2 separate regions of the Homo sapiens genome follow, and region 1 is linked to region 2. Evidence: promoter capture Hi-C in 16 types of primary human blood cells and fetal thymus (Javierre and others, 2016). All regions are on one chromosome and are shown on one strand. The core of a region is centred on a gene start or on the middle of the fragment in contact, and the rest is flanking DNA. Distances in the headings are between cores, read along the strand shown.

Region 1 (6,133 bases), core at 2,866-5,365, 2.8 Mb before region 2:
TAGAACATGCAAGACAGCACCCTGATGTGGGTGAATCTCATTTTTAAGTTCCTTCCCCCACACAAACACTTTGCCCCATTCCAGGCTGCTGAGTCTTACCAAATGAGCACTCTAAAATGAGAGGTTTCCTTGAGTCTGTAACCAAACACTCTGACATTTCTCTGTGGTCCCAAGTGCCAGTCACTCAATCCCATCGGCTCCAAGGTTAGTGTGTGCATGTGAGTGAGTGGGGACTGGAGGGAAGGAAGTGGGGAAGGGAGAAGACAGAAAAAGACAAAAGAACCTATCTCCTCCTCTCCCCAGCCCAACTCGAGATAGGCAAAGAGAGATAGACTAACTCGGTCTTTACCAAACTTCAAGGATTTTCTCCTTTGCAAAAGAAAGCTGAAGACACATGGGAGTGGGAGGTTTACTTAAAAACTTTCCTCTCTTCCTTCATGGAAGGGATCCTCAAACACTTCTGGAATACCTAGGCTGTTCTTTAACCAGCTTCAACCACCAGCTCGCTTGTGGATTTCCAGTCGCAGGCTTCTGGAACCACAGGAAGCCCAGATTTGCCATTTCACCATGACAAGTGGCAATGACTCACTCCAGATGCGGATTGAAACAAACAAACAAATTCCCCTGTGTCCACTGTCAGCTGGGCCTTGGGCTTTTCACCGTAAGCCTCTGCCTGGCCAAAAACAAATGTACATACACGAGGCGCAGGTCCTTCTCAAGTTCACTCCTTTGCAAGCCAACTCGTCTTAAGAACCAGCCCCCCCCAACTCCTGAGTGTGTGGGTTGAGTGTGGGCAATGTTGTCACCACCCCCACCCCAAATGCCGCAGGTGTGGAAGCACCACCAGCATTTGGTTTGTATTTTTACAGAGCTCTTAGTCCTTTCCCACCCCCTCAAGATTGCATCTTATCCTTATAACAGCCCTGCTTTATTAGGGAGGGAACTGAGGCTCCGGGTGAGAGGCCTTGCCCAAAATCTCAAAACCAATTTCCAGCAAGTTCTGGACACGCCGCGTCTCCTAGATTCAGCCATTCCACCAATGCCACACACAAGACTACCCACAAAAACAATCTCCAAGGAGCAGGGCTGTCAATGAGAAACTGACAACTGCTGGCTGCCCCCAGACCTGGACTTCCCATCCCAATCTCCCCGCACCCACGCTGGGTCAGTAACCACCATGGGAGAGTTAAATGTTTTCTCTTCCCTTCCTCCCTTTAGCTCTTTTGGCGCTTTCCTTGTGCATAGCCAACTAGGCTCCTTGAGAAGACAGATCCTTTAAAAGAGCTTTCCATTGAAGAAGAAAACAGGAACCAAAAAAAAAAAAAAGCAAAGAGAGAGAGAAGACAGCAGAAACGACAGAGAGAGAGAGAGAGAGAGAGAGAGAGAGAGAGAGAGAGAGAGAGAGAAAATGAGAGAAGAGGGAGAGGCGAGGTTAAGAGCCAGAGAGCAAGCCAATACAAAAGACCCCATCCTTTTCCTCCCTCCTCCCCTGGGCTGGCACCAGAAAGCCCCATTTTCTCGCTCACACATAAGAGCACAAACACCAGCCCTGCGCGCCGGGGCAAGCCTAGGCAGACTTCGCTACCCCACCCCGACCACTCCGTACCTGTCTTCCAGGGACTGCCCGCCCCTGGGCGATCCACCTCGAAGCCCCCCGCAAGGCGCGACGGAGGCTTTGTGGTATGACCGTGGCGGCCCTTAATTTAGTTACATTCAAATAAAACTTTTGGTGCACCTCGGTAGCTAACATTGTGTGTATGCCTTTTTTTTTTTTTTTTTTTTTTTCCTGTTACGCCGTCAATGCAGCAGGCAATGAGGGGAATGACACAGCCCTCTCATTCCCGGAACGTAGTCAATCTCGGCTCTGCGGATTTCACAGAACACACTTTGCCTATTGCCGGCTCCAACAAGAAGTAACTTTCCAGGAAGCTGCCGGCCCCGGCAGCCGCCAGGATCGCTGCCTGCGCTGCGCTGGCCGCCGGGGATTCACCCAGGGAGGCGGGGCCGCTGGGGAAGGCTCGCGGGGAATACAGCACACTTTCCCCTAAATCCCTCGTCCGCGCCGAGTGCAGGGCTCTCAGAGTTCACCTAGTCCCACCTCTCACCCACAACAGTTTATAAATGGGGAAGGTCAGACAAGTTAGTAGCAGAGCTGGGTCTAGAACCCAGGAGTTCGAATACAATCCGAGGCTCATATCGAGACTTTAAGTTGTCCGATTCCGAAGTTTATTTGCTTTTTTCCCTCTTTTTGCCTTCCATTCTCCCTCACCCCCGTTCTTTTAGGGGAATGTTTGAGCGAGACTTCAAGGTCAAAAGATGGAGTCCCTAGGGGCTGAGGGTCTCCATCATAGGCGCCCCAGGCAAGGTTGGAGAAAAACTAAACAGAAAGCCCCTTCCGCCTACGTTGGCAAGAACGGGAACCCAGCTCCACTTGGTTTCCGCCCAAAGTCTTTAGAACAGGAGCTGCCAAGCCGTAAGGATTTCCGAATCCGATTTCCCCGAAACCGTAGAGACACAGCTTGGACTCGGCAAAGGCCGGGGCCCCGACCCCTGCGCGCGCACTGGCACTCTCCAAAGTTGCCTCGCCTTCCTGTGGCCCTCCCGGGAATTATAACCCCCGGGTGCCATGTCCTAATTGGTCTCGGTAGCAGGCTCCGGGGTGCGCTTTCGGGGGCTAGGGGACAGCGAAAGACTCAGCCACAAAGGCCGCAGTCTGGTCCTAAAACTAGCCAGTGGCGTCACACTGCGCCGCTCATCCCTTCTGCGGCAAGCGGAAGGGTCAGAGTCGGTCTGCAAAGAACGAGCCTTTGGCCTCAAAATCCTACATTGAGGCTTTCTCACCCCTTCGCCCGGTGGGATAAAGGTGAAAGAGACGGTTGGGATTTAATAAGGGGTAGGGATGAGAATCTGGGAAGTTAAAATGAAGTAAGTGCATTTATTGGAAATTAGGAGTCCCGTGGTTCCGGGAGCTCAAACCGAATGGTGTTTTTACCGCTGCCTAACGCTAGAGAGAGCCCTCCATCAAGGTTTGAAACCGTCAACCCCTTTCTCGCCCCTCCCCTCCTTCCCATTGACCTAGTTTGGCCAGAGCCTCCCGATTTGGAGAATGCCTTCCGCCCTTCCCCCCTCCTCTCCAGCCAGAGAGGCTACAGAGGCTGTTGGATTATTGGTAATCTAATAACTCCAATAACCCGCTGAAAAATCCAAAGGGAAATCTGAAAGTGTAAAGCACTGTTTAGGGACAAGGACAAGGAATTTTAATAAGGCTGCAACTGCCGTAGTGAACCCCGCATCAGGGGCCCTGCCGTGGGGCTCCCGGTCTCAGCAGTGTTTCAGCCAACTAGCTGCACGGCTGCAGACACCACCGTGGTCCGGCGGCAGGGGGTGAGGTCAAATCGCGGAGCTGTTTTTATTCTTGGGGGAAAACACTCTTCGCCCTCTTGGCTGGGGAACGGGAGGGTGCAGGAGACGACAGTAAATAAAAGCGAATTTGATAACGCGATGGCCTCGACAGCCGCTTTGGATAACCGAGGTGTTCGGGGACATTGTGTCCTGACTTTCATTTCTATCACGTTTCCTGCCAACAGTGCTCTTGCAAGCCTGCAAGCTTCTAGGAAATGCAATAAAACAGAGGGATGTGTTTTATCATCAAGATCTGAAGAGGAGTTGCAGAAGGGACGTTCCCCATACGCTCAGCGCGAGACAGCCTTCCAGAAGGGCCCGAAGACAATGCCAGCAAATCGCGTCCCGGAGCAGAGATCCCTCGGCCGTCCTGGCTGGACTGGGCTCAGCCTTTGCAAAAAGGCTGGCGGGGGAGGGGAGAAGCATGATCTCCTCAAGCAAACAATGCCTTTAAAAATCCGATCTGGAAAGAAGTCAGCCAAGGTCCTTATTCACGTTAATGAAGATGGAAGGCACTAACTGTCCTTGGAAAGCGATGAGTCAAACTTGACCGCGCTTCAAACTCGTTCCCAGATTCGTTTCCAGTCCGAACAGAGGCGCGTTTCTCCGACGCGGCCTCCGACGGCTCCCGCAGTGGGAGGGGCCGAACTCGATCCCCGCCGACCCGGGCGGGGGCGACGGCGCTGTCTCCCCCTGCAGAGCGCGCCTGCTGCCGCTAGGGGCCGCCAGCATGCGGACGCGCGTTTGCCATCTTAAGTCACGAGCTCGGAGAAAGAAAACTTTACGGAGGAACTGTTGTGGCACAAATTCTGGCCTATCCACATGACCCCCACCCCCTCACACACACACACCCGGTTTCTCGCCAGGCTACTATGCAGAGGATGTTAGGAAGGGGAAGAGAGCGATTTCAGAATCGAGGCTCGCCCTGCAAGTCTTTGGTCCAGGCCTTAACCCCCCTCTTAACACGCAAACCCCCGAGCTCCGAGACCCACACCCTTCAGCACCATCTGGGCTTTTCGTGTCATTACCGAAAATCTTAGGCCATATTTTCTTTAAAAAAAATCCTCCAAGACTGCTGGGGAGCGGTTTCCAATGAACACTGGCAACAAAGGTGACCTAAGAGGTTAAACTCATGGTTCTGGCAGCCGCTCCTTTCTCATAAATACTTCTAAGGAGCTGAGATAAACCCGCCTTTGGCTTTCAGTCACTGACATGAAATTCAGAAGCTTAAAATCTGGTCCTGGTTAAGTCACTAACTCACCACTAACAAGCCTCCTCGTCGGGCCTGTTTCCTCAACTGCAAAACAGAGTTGTACGTCCCAAAGCCCCTGAGCTCCTAGGTGGCATCCTTCCACTACCGACTTCCCCTAAGAGGGGCCACAGGGACAGGAAGATGGTGTGTTCGAAGCGGGTTATTTGTGGTTTTTCTTAGTGCAAATAGATGCTCATCGCTGAGTGATGGGCAAGCAGCGAGGCCTTTCTGATTTTCATCCCTCTTGCCAAAACTTTGGAGGTTGTATGCCATCCCCATTGGAGGGTGCCCTCCTTCTGTCAGTCCTAGCATCTGGTCAGGGTACCGCCGCCCGGGAGGTGGAACGGCGAGCCCACCGCCCATGGCCGCGAACTCGATCTCAGCCCACCGCTAGGTGGCAGGCCAGCCCGTCCGAGAATCGCCGCGCGGCCGCAGCTTCCACACCGATCCCTACCCGCCCCTCTTTATTTTCTGTCTGGTGGGGGCGAGGGTTGGGGGTGTGATTGCCTCTAAAAGCAAAGCTAGAAAACATTTAATTTAGTGTATGTAATTCCGTTCCTCCCGATGCTCCCGCCTCTAGCAACCACAACGCGGTATCTGGAGCTGGTTTCATGTATCATAAGTTGATTTCTCCCCCAGCCTCCGAAAAGCTTTATGTACTGGGAAGGGAAAGAAGGTGCACTTGTCTTCAAAAGGCAGAATGGCACTCGACAGTATTGGCAGAGATTCTTGCCAAACACTGGTCATCCAGCAAAGAAAGTCGGGAATAAACTCCTGATCTTCTCGGAGGAAAGGGGCGCTGGGGGCCGAGTGCTGGATCCCACTCAGGCTCACTGCGCCTGGCAAAGCGGGGGAGTGGGGAGTCGGGTATGGTCTTTTGGTGAAGTTGTGGGTCTCGGAGTGGACATCGGGAGGGTTGGGAGGGGCCGTTCCTGGTTTCCACTGGGGCAAAGAGAAACCAGCCAGTTCTGCCACCACGCTGCACCCTCGCTGTGCTCGCGGCGGCAGCGGCGGTCCCACTTGTTGCGCAGTGCTGGAAACCGGCACGCGCCATTCGATGTTGATTCACAGAGGGCTACAGACCAGCCTACCATTGCTCCACGCCATCCACAAACCTCCTCAACACACCCCCTACACATACGTCCTGCCACCGCCGGCAAAACTACAGCATTTCCAGCCACTATGGTGTTTTACACCAAAACATCCCTCACTATCTCGGTATCAGACAGGCAGCAGAATTAAGATGCCCTGAGAAGTCAATCCAAGGGGAAGGCCGGGCTACCTCCGCCTGGAGAACTCTTCTACTTAAAATCAACCAGGCACCCTCCCCCCACCAAAAAAAAAAACCTTAGAACCACGTTGCCTATTATAACACCATCCTAGTTGGAAAGCAACATTTTTCTTCCCTACTTGATAAACTTCAAAGTCCTTTTTATCCGTTAGTTTTATCTCCCCTATTTTTTTTAAATCTCTGGGGGA
Region 2 (6,249 bases), core at 3,325-5,824:
TATTAAACATATATACGTATATATATAGACACACACACACACACACACATATATATATATATAATTTGTTGTTTTAGTTTTTGTCTTCCAATGATTCTGATCTCCCAAAAAAATGTAAATCAAAGGAAGAGGGCGATATATAAGTCACTTAATATCTTTGTATCAAAGTTTAACCATGAGAGTTTTGGACTGAATTGTAACTCAACAAATGTTTATTCAATGAGTACTACGTGCAAAATATTGTCTGTTTGCCAGGGAAACATTATATTACCCTCCCGGAGTTAGCATTCTAGTGAAAACAGCATTCAATAAGTAAATTAATTAAAATGTTACGTAATGTATTATTTGACTTGGTTGTCAGGAAAAGCTTTGCTGGGAAGGTTATAGTGGAGCAGGGACATTAATGAAGATGTGAGTAAGAGGAGAGAACAAGCAACAGGGGAACAGCGGTCCAGCAAGGGGGAACAGCAGGTGCAAACACCCTAGTATGGGAACATGTTAGTGTGTTTGGTCGACAGCAAGGAGCATGCTATGGGAGATTGAAAGAAGCAACTCAGTGCTGGATCATGTAGGGCCACACAAGGACTTTTAGGCCATAAATGACTATGGAAATTTATCTGATCATGATAAGAAATCACTATTTGAAAGCAGAGAATGACATATTTCTTGTAAAAGAATAATGAATATTTATATTGCATTTCTACATGCCAATCCCCATGCCAAGTGTTTTACTTATATAATCTCATTTAATTTAAAAACAGCACTATAATGTATATTATTGTCATTGTTATTCATATTTTTCAGAGAATAAAACTGTGAAAAAAAGAAATTAAGTAACTTGACCACATTATGTAAACTTGATCCCAGGTAGTCGGGCTTCAGATTCCTTGACCTCAATCACTAGCCTGTATTTATTCTATTTTCATTTATAAGGGTCTCTGAAGTAAGGGCAATAGACTCTTTGGGTAAGAGTTTAAGCAGGGACACCAGTGAGGGGAGAGATGGCAATGACTTGAACCATGGTGGTTGTGATGGAGAAGAGGAATAGCGTGGTTGGATTTGAGATGTGTTTTGAATGTAGAGGAAGCAGAAGGTTTGTGGATATAATGTGTACAGGCAATGAGAGAGAGTGATAACTCCAACTTTTTGACCTGAGCAACTGGGTAAAAGACAGTGTTGCTTACAAAGCTCTGGTTTGGTGTGGGGCAGAAATAAAGTTTGAATTTGAACATGTAAAGTTTGAGATGTATTTAAAACATCCAAGAAGGAGATATGAAGGAGGTAATATGGTATACAAAGTCTGGTTTGGGCTTTAGATTTAGATTTGCAAGTTATTATCATATTGATATTTTAGAAGGCCATGTGTCTGTCTGAGTTCCCCTAGGTAGAGAATATAACCACTTCAAGGATTGAGCTCTAGGACACTGGAACCTTCAGAGATCATGAAGAGGTAGAGGATTCAATAAGAATCTGATAAGGAACAGCAGATGAAATACATGAAAAACAAAGAGTCAAGTACGAGAGAGTGTGAAAGAGCAACAGATTATCTGTGTCTAATGCTGCTGATACATGTACAATGAAGACAGAGAATTGATCACCACATTTGGCAAAGTGAAGATCATTACAGATGCTGACTGTGGAGTGGTAGAGATAAATGTCTGAATGGATTGGGTTCAAGAGACTAGCAAACTCCTGATGCGTCTTACAGCTACAGCAAGATAATTAAAGATAACCTAAAAAAAAGGTGGAGGGTAAAAGCTGGGAGAAGAAGAGAATAATAATACCTTTCCAAATACATCAATCAATTGCAAAATATTTTATTGTGCATCTTCTATACATCCAGCAGTATTAGTCACTGACATCAATGAATTTGTAGCTTCATTTATTCATTTAGGCAACTATTATTCATCAAATGTTTAGTATGTGATGGATATTTAATGGGTATAGCTTTAAAATATTTTTCTCAATTGTTAGCATAACATTTTTTCATTTTTAATTATTACGGGTACATAATAGGTGTATATATGTATGGGTGACATGTGATGTTTTGATACATGCATACAATGTGTAATAATCACATCAGGGTAATGACAACAGGGTGTCATCACCTTGACCATTTGTCACTTCTTTGAGGAACATTCCAATTTCACTCTTACTTATTTTAAAATGCATAATTAATTATTGTTGACTGTAGTCACTCTGTTGTGCTATCAAGTGCTGGGTCTTATACATTCCAGCTAATTATATTTTTGCAACCGTTAACCATCCTCCCTTCCCCACAACTCCCTTGCCTCTGCTACTCTTCCCAGCCTCTGGTAACCATCATTCTACTCTCATATCTCAGTTCCTTTGTTTAATTTTTAGCTCCCACGTGTGAGTGAGAATTTGCAAAATTTGTCTTTCTGTGCTTGGTTTATTTCACTTAAATGTAAAAGGAAAAAGAGATGTTTCTATTTCTGTAATCCTAACATATCAACATTTTTTCACATTCCTTTCAATTGGTGTTCATCTCTCCACAACTTTTACTCAACCTTATTTTGTAAGCCTTTTTCTTTGTAGACATATTTCCATAATATGATAGTTATGATGCAAATATTTTATTCTGTGCGTAGACAGCGTTGGTTAACTAATCATTTTCATTTCCAACCATTTATATTGTGTTCAAACTACAATATACTATGAATATTTGTCTATATGATTATTCATCTTAATGTTATCTTCCTTAAGCTATGAGTAGCCCTTCAATGTCCGGGAATATACATCTGGTTCAATTCTGAATTACTAGCATCTGTTTGGCTTCTAGGTAGTACATGAGACTGAGTAGCGGCTGAGAGCATGAACGTCGAGTGTCTCTAGTCTCATTTTGTATTCTCCACTTGTAGGCCTGTAGCCTTGGTCAAGTTATTTAAATTCCCTTTATCTCCTTTATGAACTGGAGATAATAATAGCACCCTCCAGGTTGTATTGAGGGTTACCTGAATTAATATACACAAAGTCCTTATGATTGCACCTTTTTATTTTGTAAGCACTGTGTAAATGCTTCAGTGTACTATATATATATAAAAGTCTGTGCCCAGAATATATTTAAGGAATGAATAATAAATCAGAAAATGTTTTATTGTTGCTTCATACAGGTAACATTTTAAATTCTTTTGGATTATTTTCTCTTTGGTTCAGTGACAATGTTGTGAGCAGGTGCTGGGTCCCAGGTATCCTGAGATAAATAAAAATTTTGAGCAATTAATTTTCATAAGTGATGTCAAGAAGTAAAGTATCATGAACATTTCTATGGCTCCAATTACACTGATATTTCACCTTAGGAACTGAAGCTCCGCCAGGGCAGGGGCAGCCTCTGAGTTTCGTACTGCTGTGCACCTTTAGCAGCACGGGCACCTGCTGGTTTCATTTCCTTCCCACTCACCTGGGCCCTTTTCTTATTTCACATCTTTTTTCTCCTTTTCCTTAAATGCTTTCTCTGAATCTTGATTCTTGAAAATAAATTAGTAGGATTCAGTTAGGTAGGAGGAGGAGAAAAGAAGATGTGATGAGCAAGAAGATGTGCGAAGACTCGTCAGTCTGGTAGGTGGCTTTGGTTAGGGGGTTTCAGAAATGGGGACAGGTCATGAAGGGCCTTGCCAGTCAGGAAAAATCATGAGGCACTAGCAGTAGGAACACAGCAGAAGGTGCCTGAACAAGAGAGATGACTTAATGAAAGCCTTTATAACGCTTCCCGGGATATATTACAGACTACCATCTACAGTGGCAGAGGGCAGCTGAAGGAAGGCTCTTGCAAAAACTTGGGGAAATGGAAATGAATGAAGGCAAATATTTGTTTTGAGATTATTTCCTTCTATGTAACCTATTAGTTCTTTTATTCGTTCCCCATACATGTATTGAGTGCCTACTTTGTGCCAGGCACTGTGCTAGGCAATGGGTATATTACCAGTGGACAATACAGATTTAGTCTTGCTGTCATGTCCTGTTGCTTGCTCATATGAATGTCAGTTCAAGACAGCAAGAGCTCAGGACTGCGGAGATCGCATCTACATCCTGCCGCGCTCTGTGCCGGCACAGGGTGGTTGCGAAAATCGTGCAGTCTGAATTGATTCAAGGCCTTGCAGCATGATTGCTAAATACGTCGAGACAGGAAGAAAGGGCAGGGTGGCACCGATCTCAACTGCGAGAGCACGATCTTGCAATGAGCGCATGTGTGCGCCTCGGTGTGTAGTGAGGGGCGTAGCTTCCCACAGCGCCTGGCAGCGTGCCGAGCTGCGCTGCAGGACTAACCCTCTCCTTTCCCCGCGCGCTCAAGCCCGCACAGGCGGTGGCAGGGAGCCGAAGGGGCCGAGCGCAGCCTTGCATCCGTCCGCAGGCGGGCCCGGCGCCGCGCCTCCTGGCGGCGGGCGGGACCGTCCAGGACGCCGCCCCGCGGCCGCAGCTCCTGGAAGCCCAGAGCGCCGGTGGATCGCGAGCCAAGGCGGCGGGTGGAGCCTGAGCCGTGAGGCCGTGGCCAATCGCGCCGCTCCGGGGGAGGAGCCCCAAAGGGGGAAAAGAAAGTGCGGCGGAAAGTAAGAGGCTCACTGGGGAAGACTGCCGGGATCCAGGTCTCCGGGGTCCGCTTTGGCCAGAGGCGCGGAAGGAAGCAGTGCCCGGCGACACTGCACCCATCCCGGCTGCTTTTGCTGCGCCCTCTCAGCTTCCCAAGAAAGGTGAGTCTCGCGCCGCCGTGAGGGCTCAGAAGTCACCAAGCCGCAGAATCTCAGGGTAGACGGATTCTTAGAGATCCTATCGTTAAACCCTCCTACTTTACAGAAGAGGAAACTGAGGCACAGAACGAGGCAGCGGCTGGGATAGGTCATACTGCTAGTTAGGACTGGAGCCCGGATTCGAACCCAAACGTTCAGAGACCCATCTTTGCTTTGCAGGGATTTAAGTAACGCGGTTGTGGGACGTCTGCTCGTTGCCGCCCCCATCCTCAGCCCTTTGAGGGGTCTACCCTTGTTTTCCTCCTCACCGCCCCCTCCCCGCTACCACCCCCCGCCCCCATCTCCTCCTTGGTTTCTCCAGACCGCTGCTGGAAGCGCCGAGGACAGAAGGAAGCGGTGTGTCCCAGCACGCCCACTCGGTATCACGTCGCTCTCAGCGCAGAGCTGTGACAGCCTGGGAAAATGCTGCTTGCAGCCTCACTCCCTCTTCCCCTGACCTGCTTTCTCAGAAAGATGCCCCTTCAGAGGGTGTCGGACCAGCTTCTGGAGGAGCGCGGGGAGAGAGGAGCGAGGCCCGGGCGCCAGTGACCTCCTATGGTACTGTTTCTTCCCAGCCCCGGAGGAAGCGGAGCTAGTGGCCCTGTGGGGCACAGGGTGCCCCTCACTTGGGAAGAGCTGACTTCATGGAACCATAGAGCCCCTTCCCTCTTCTAAATACTGAGAGGGAGCAAGGAAGCTGAGTTAAAGAGAAAATCACAAACATAAAAGCAAACTTCGGCTGTTTCCTTTAAGAGCTAGCCCACAGCCTGTCTTCCCTCCACCTTCTGGTTGTGAAATTGTGAACCAGGGCGCCACGCGAAGCATTCTGCTGCTCTGCTGTACAGATCCCTGGTTTAGCTACTGGATGAGAAAGAGGACTTGAGTTTTGACTCCAGCTCTTCCATGTATTAGCAGTGTGAACTTGGGCAAGTTATCTCACCTTTCCGATACTGGGTTTTTCTTTTCTTTCTTTCTTCCTTTTTTTTTTTTCCAGCCAAAAAATGGAGATTTATAATGGTCACAATGAGCCCTTTGGGTAGTTGGAAGGATGAAATGGGATCATTCAAGTAGCATGTTTAGCACAGTGCCTGGCCTGGCATCTGGTTGGTTCAAAACCAATGGCAACTATTGTAAATATTGTTACATAGTAACCTTGCAGACAGTGGGTTTTCAGAAAGGTGATTTCATACCATCTTACAGAGGCATTTTAAAAAAATCTGTAAATGTGGTGTCTTTCTTCTTTTGAATTTGAGCAACTCTTTTATAATAAGAATTTTCTGAATGTTGTCCATATGTGATGTGGATCATGGATGCTTAGCTCGAAATGTAAAATTGATGTTTCTCGGTGATATGAATTTCCTACTAGTTTTTAGGTCAAACCTCAGGCCTGTGAACTGCCCTGATCTGAGACATCCTTTATTGACAAAGAGGGTCTTGAAATGGGTGAGAGGCAGAAAGACAAGAAGACAAAGTTGGAAGTTGCAGCTGTGTTACAGATTATTCT

The links. Contacts are between HindIII fragments. The CHiCAGO score rates a contact against its expected background, and 5 or more counts as called.
Region 1: a contact is called between a fragment that was not itself captured here and the fragment with the promoter of IL1RAP in region 2, in 2 of 17 cell types (non-activated CD4 T cells and naive CD4 T cells). The highest score is 7.8, in non-activated CD4 T cells.

The regions. Positions count from the first base shown.
Region 1 is chr3:187,735,991-187,742,123 of GRCh38, forward strand. All of the region lies in intron 1 of BCL6 (BCL6 transcription repressor), which reads right to left. Among named protein-coding and RNA genes, the nearest start is that of BCL6-AS1, 4.6 kb to the right of the region's middle. RefSeq lists enhancers at 2,127-3,106, 5,199-5,700, 5,701-6,133 and a silencer at 3,608-3,783. The HindIII fragment of the contact is 1,021 bases long and covers 3,606-4,626 here.
Region 2 is chr3:190,509,511-190,515,759 of GRCh38, forward strand. It overlaps IL1RAP (interleukin 1 receptor accessory protein), which reads left to right and starts at 4,575. Exons shown (of 12, transcript NM_002182.4): 1 at 4,575-4,709. RefSeq lists enhancers at 3,922-4,011, 4,764-5,265, 5,266-5,765 and a silencer at 4,162-4,511. The HindIII fragment of the contact is 8,413 bases long and covers 366-6,249 here.